2 separate regions of the Homo sapiens genome follow, and region 1 is linked to region 2. Evidence: promoter capture Hi-C in 16 types of primary human blood cells and fetal thymus (Javierre and others, 2016). All regions are on one chromosome and are shown on one strand. Each heading gives the region's core, a stretch centred on a gene start or on the middle of the fragment in contact. The rest is flanking DNA. Distances are from core to core; before and after follow the strand shown. Region 1 has its middle 29 kb from the start of MFSD2A. Region 2 holds the start of ZNF684 (zinc finger protein 684).

What was found. The method cuts DNA at HindIII sites, captures the fragments that hold promoters and counts their contacts. A CHiCAGO score of 5 or more calls a contact.
Region 1: a contact is called between a fragment that was not itself captured here and the fragment with the promoter of ZNF684 in region 2, in 1 of 17 cell types (neutrophils). The highest score is 5.4, in neutrophils.

The regions. Positions count from the first base shown.
Region 1 is chr1:39,982,124-39,985,267 of GRCh38, forward strand. No RefSeq gene overlaps it. Among named protein-coding and RNA genes, the nearest start is that of MFSD2A, 29 kb to the left of the region's middle. The HindIII fragment of the contact is 9,070 bases long and covers 1-3,144 here.
Region 2 is chr1:40,529,623-40,532,897 of GRCh38, forward strand. ZNF684 (zinc finger protein 684) reads left to right here and starts at 2,015. Exons shown (of 5, transcript NM_152373.4): 1 at 2,015-2,165. It overlaps LOC124904149 (a long non-coding RNA gene), which reads right to left and starts at 1,924. Exons shown (of 2, transcript XR_007066022.1): 1 at 1,866-1,924; 2 at 956-1,733. RefSeq lists an enhancer at 1,815-2,109. The HindIII fragment of the contact is 2,309 bases long and covers 869-3,177 here.

The DNA of each region.
Region 1 (3,144 bases), core at 38-2,537, 550 kb before region 2:
GCAGAGGCAGAGGACGAGACCTAGGCTGTCTAATCCAACCCCACCTGATGCGTGGATGCCTGTGGCTGCCTTCTGCTTGCTCATGCCTTTGGCAGCCAGCTCATTTTGGCTCAAGGCAGCCTGTTTCATTTGTGGAGAAGGGCATAAAAAAAGGTTTCCTTCATCTTGAAAGCTATCTCCTTGTGGCTTGTCCCCACAGATTCTAGATCCTCTCTTTGGCATCTGCACAATACAACCCTTCTCTTTGTCCCATGGAAGACCTGCATAAATTTGAAGACAGATCTTGTCCCTAGAAATGAGATCAAGGCCTGTCATTCTTCTAGTTATACTTGTTTTAGTAGTCTATAAAGACCAAGCATTTATTTTGCTTTTGTAATTAAAAATAAACAAAAAACTCCTTACTTTTCAATGTTTTATTGAGATATAATTTACATTCAGGAGGCTGGGCGCGGTGGCTCACGTCTGTAATCCCAGCACTTTGGGGAGGCCAAGGCGGCTGGATCACCTGAGGTCAGGAGTTCGAGACCAGCCTGGCTAACATGGTAAAACCCCGTCTCTACTAAAAATACAAAAATTAGCCGGGTATGGTGGTGCATGCCTGTAATCCCAGCAACTCGGGAGGCTGAGGCAGGAGAATTGTTTGAACCTGGGAGGCGGAGGTTGCAGTGAGCGGAGATCGCACCACTGTACTCCAGCCTGACAACAGAGTGAGACTCCGTCTCAAAAAAAAAAAAAAAAAAAGAAATCTTTACTTACCCCAATATCAAAAAAATTATCTTATGTTTTTATTTAGAAGTTGTTTTATTGTTGTTTTATACTTTTTTTATTTAGGTCTATGATCCACTCAAATTAATTTTTGTGTATAGTGTGAGTTAAGGGTCAGAGTTTATTTTTCTCTGTACTTATCCAATTATTCCAGCACCTTTTATTAAAAGGACGTCCCTCCCCTACTTGATTACAGTGGCATAAATCAAAAGAACCTATATGTGTAGGTCCATTTTTGGACTCTATTTTTTTTTTTTTTTTTTTTTTGAGACAGAGTCTTGCTCTGTCGCCTAAGCTGTAGTGCAATGGTGCGATCTCGGCTCAATGCAACCTCCATCTCCCGGGTTCAAGCAATTCTCCTGCCTCAGCCTCCCCAGTAGCCGGGATTACAGGCACACGCCACCACACCCGGCTAATTTTTGTATTTTTAGTAGAGGCGGAGTTTCACCATATTGGTCAGGCTGGTCTCAAACTCCTGACTTCAGGTGATCCACCTGCCTCGGCGTCCCAAAGTGCTGGGATTACAGGCATGAGCCACCGTGGCTGGCCCTGGACTCTTTATCCTGTTCAAGTGATCTACTCAGCTATTCTTACTCCAAGAGTCCCCTGTCTTAATTACTATAGATTTATATAGTAAATGTTGAAATTTGGTAGTGTAAGTCTTTCAACTTCAAGGTTTTGTTTTGTTTTGTTTTTGAGATGGAGTTTCACTCTCTCCCAGGCTGAAGTGCAATGGCGCGATCTTGGCTTATTGCAACCTCCACCTCCCAAGTTCAAGCGATTCTCCTGCCTCAGCCTCCCAAGTAGTTGGGACTACAGATGCCCGCCATCATGCCCAGCTAATTTTTTTGTACTTTAAGTAGATAGGGGGTTTCAGCATATTGGCTAGGTTGGTCTTGAACTCCTGACCTCAGGTGATCTGCCTGCCTTGGCCTCCCAAAGTGCTGGGATTACAGGTATGAGTCACCATGCCTGGCCAAACTTCAAGGTTTTTGGATTGTCCATATGTATTTTGGAATCAGCTTGTCAATGTATGCGTGTGCACACACACACACACACACATACACACACAGAATGTGCTGGGAGTTTGATGGAATTACACTGAATCTATGAACTAATTGGAAAAAACTGGCATCTTAACAATATTGAGTCTTCTAATTTATGAACATGAAATATCTGTCCATTTATTTAGGTCGTGTTTAATTTATGTCAAGAATGTCTTATAGAAACAGGCATGGTGGTGCATGCCCGTAGTCCCAGCTACTTGGGAGGCTGAGGCAGGAAGATCACCTGAGCCAGGGAGTTTGAGACCAGCCTGGCCAAAATAGTGAGACACTGTCTCTTAAAAAAGAGAGAGGGCCGGACGCGGTGGCTCACACCTGTAATCCCAGCACTTTGGGAGGCCAAGGCGGGTGGATCACAAGGTCAGGAGTTCGAGACCAGCCTGGCCAAGAAGGTGAAACCCCATATCTACTAAAAATACAAAAAATTAGCCGGGTGCAGTGGCAGGCGCCTGTAATCCCAGCTACTCGGGAGGCTGAGGCAGGAGAATCGCTTGAACTCGGAGGGCGGAGGTTGCAGTGAGCTGAGATCGCGCCACTGCACTCCAGCCTGAAAACAGAATGAGACTCTGTCTCAAAAAAAAAAAAAAAAGAGAGAGAGAGAATGTTTCAGGTTGAGGTCTTTTTTTTTTTCTTTGAACATTTATTATGATTCTTTTTACATTTTTTGTAGAGGTGGGGTCTTGCTATGTTGCCCAGGCTGGTCTCCAACTCCTGGGCTCAAGCAATTCTCCCACCTCAGACTCCCAAAGTGCTGGGATTATAGGCATGAGCCACCACTCCTGGCCACAGGTTAAAATCTCAAACATCTTTCAATAGATTTATTCCTAAGTATTTGATATTTTTGATACTGATGTAAATGATATTTTTTGTAAATTTCATTTTCTAATTTTTTTGTTGCTATTATAAAGAAATACATTTGTATGTTGATCTCATATCCAGTAGTCTTGCTAAATTCACATATTAATTATATGAAACCTCTACATTTTTAATTTTGAAAACATTTGCATTGATCTTAAAGTTCAAGCTAGTATTTTGATTATTTTAAAACTTCCTAGGCCGATGGGCGCAGTGGCTGATGACTGTAATTCCAGCACTTTGGGAGGCCAAGGCAAGAGGACTGCTTGAACTCGGGAGTCTGAGACCAGCTTGGGCAACATGGTGAAACTCTGTCTCCACAAAAATACAAAAATTAGCCAGGCATGGTGGTGCATTCCTATGGTCCCAGCTACTCGGGAGGCTGATGCGGGAGGATTGCTTGAGCTCATGATTGCACCACTGCACTCCCGCCTGGGTGACAGAGAAAGACCCTGTTTCA
Region 2 (3,275 bases), core at 765-3,264:
GATCTTAGCCAAAAGGCTGAGAAGCGATAATGGCTACTAATATCAAGCCAGTTCTTAATGGTGCCAGGCAATAGTACTACATTTCCTTAATCTATTCACTTGCTCACATTCATAAATCATACTTTATCGAATCTCAGATGCCATTGATTATAAGTTGTATTATTATTTTATATACTAATAAAAAACAATGCTCCTGATTAAACTATGGAATGCCATCACTTGTAAGACAGCAATTTCACAGATGTTAAAATATGAAAAAATCATGTTTCAAAATCATCATAATACGGTATTCATCTTTTCTGTCAAGTCTAAAATACTTTCCCCCTATCTTCATTTCAGCTTCCTATTTCACTGGGAAAATAGAAGCACTCAGAACAGGGCATCCTCTTTCTCCTACCACCATATTTGTCCACCTGTTTGGATCTGTACTTATAAACTCTGCCTCCCCTTTTATTTCAATGGAGATGAATTATCCATACTCTTACTTAGAATGATCCCTGTGATTGTGTACTGGATTCCATCCCTTCTCTTCTCAAGGACATTCCTCCGAGTAACTAGCCTGTCTATCCTGAATTGTGTATTTCCCGCCTCTACTGGATCTTTTGTTTTATTTTATTAACTAATTCATTTATTTGAGACAGAGCCTCGCTCTGTCGCCCAGGCTGGAGTGCAGTGGTGTGATCTCGGCTCACTGCAACCTCTGCCTCCCGGGTTCAAGTGATTCTCCCGCCTCAGCCTCCCAGGTAGCTGGGTTTACAGGCGTCTGCCACCACGCCCGGCTAATTTTTGTATTTTTAGTAGAGACGGGGTTTCACCACGTTGGCCAGGCTGGTCTCCAACTCCTGACCTCAGGTGATCTGCCCACCTAAGCTTCCCAAAGTGCTGGGATTACAGGCGTGAGCCACTGCGCCCAGCCTAGATCCTTTTAATTAGTACATAAACTTACTATAATTTCTTCCATCTTTTTTATTTTATTTTTTTGAGACAGAGACTAGCTCTGTCGCCCATGCTGCAGTGCAGTGGCGGGATCACGGCTCACTGCAGTCTCTACTGTCTGGGCTCAAGCGATCCTCCCATCTCAGCCTCTCAAGTAGTTGGGACTTCAGGCGGGTGCCATGCCAGGCTAGTTTTTTATTTTTTGTAGAGATGAGGGTCTCACTATGTTGCCTAGGCAGTTTCAGACTCCTGGGCTCAACCAATCCTCCCACTTTGGCCTCCTGAAATGTTAGGATTACAGGCATAAGCCACCACACTCAGCCCCATCTTTGAATTAAAAAAAAAAAAAAAATTAGAACGTGGAAAAACGCAACAACAAAAGATTAACAAAATCCCTATCCCATGATAGCCTTATTTTTCTGCTCACCTTAAAAACAAAACTTCTTAAAAGTATTGCGTATATTTGCTTTCTCCATTTCCTCTCCTCCCATCCTTCCCTCCAACTCCTATCAAATTTTCATCAGACTTTATCAAACTTCCACCACTGCCAAAATGGCGTTTCAACATCACTGGTGACCATTGCTACAGTGGCCCATTCTTAATTCTCATTTTACTTGACCTATGAGCAACATTTGAGACAATGGGTCACTCCCTTCTTGAAACACTTCCTTCCCTTGGTTTTGCAGATCTAAACTCTCCTACTTTTCCATCTACTTCATGGATTATTCCTTCTCAGTCTTCTTTGTTGGATCCTCTTCACCTCTCCGACTTAACCTGGTGCATTGCTAGAAGAAACCCTGCTGAGTAAGAGCAAATTGTTTTTAGCATACCGCCGATTTTACTTTCCAGTATTTAAAAATGCTGTGTATCCTTTTAAATGAAAACGACTTAAAAAGCGTGGCTCTCAGGCTAGCAATAGAGATACCAACCCGGGAATCTCCGCACCACCCCCCAAGAGGAAGCAGCGTCTGACGTCTTCCGGAAACGAGCTCCACTGGCCTTATGGGAAATGTGGTCTCCGACGGATGGCCTACACCCGGGAGGAGTCCAGGAACTCTAGGTGGACAGTTACTTCCGCACACGCGTAGTAGGACGGTAGCCGGTATTCAATCTTCAAATCAGCGCCGCGGGAAGTGCGGGCGGGTGTTGCTCCCCTGTCTCTGGACGACGCTGTGACTGATCCCAGGCTTGGAGCCGGAGCTGCGAGCGAGGCAGTGAAAGGGTGGCAGGTATGGCTTTGCTGGACTCGGAGGACGTAAGAGAAAGGCGGGGACTGGCTTCTAGGTTTACCCTACCGAAGATAAAACTTTAGTCTCCAAGCGCAGTGACTTCAGGTTTGGATATGTGGGTCCTGTTCAACTCGAGTAGCTGAGAGAAAGCAAGAGTTGGGCTCCGACTGGCACTGGGTAGATGTCCAGGGCTCTGGTGGGACTGGGAGAGGCTCAATTTGCATTCCTGCTCTTGTAGGTCAAGGTCACTATGTAGGAGTCTGTTCATCTAACTGTACCTTTCCTGGTTCCAAGAGCATAGTTGGCCCGACTGGAGCCTGCGACAATTTTAAGCCGTGTCAAGGGATCCAGTGGAAACTGTAAGCTATTTCAAGGGATCCAGGAAGAAAGCATTCTTGAGAAACTGCTATGGATTAGAAGGGTATTCTCAGCAATCATTTGAAGTAAATGCTATTACCATTTTGCATATGAGTTAACTGAAGCTGAAAGGTGAAATTACTTGCCTGGACTCACACAGCTTAGTAAGTGGAAGAACTGAGATTCAAACTCAGATACATTTTCTCCAAATTTCTTTTTTTTTTTTTTTACAGTATAGCATTCCTGCATAAAACAGAGTTGGGTTTATTCTCCTGAAATGTTTGAGCAATGAATGCTGAGTAAATTTCGATTTGTAGTCATTTTGTAGAGTCTCTTGGTGTATCTGCAGATCTTCCAGTGCAGACTGTGTAAATGAAGATGTGAGTCCCCGGTTTGCCCATTATACCCTTTCTAGAGCCCCAGCAGTTCTAAGCTCATAGGAGATGGCGAGTTTCTACAGAGAGAAACATTTGGAGTTTAAACTGAAGGATCCAGCTTAACAAAAAAAAAATAAAAAAAAGTGTTCCTGGGTCCCTGAATCCAGCCTTCTCAAGAAAGCCCAACCTAATTTGCAATCTCTTATCCCAGCGTCAGAGTAGAAACCAGAGAATCACAGGAAGGAATCATTTTTAGACTTACGGAGCTTCAGAGACCAAGCTTTTAAGTGAGTCAACTCATTCATTATTTCTTCAGGATAAATTTCTGGGAGGAAAAAAAATAACTGTTTCAAGAGGAACCACTTGGTGCTAGATC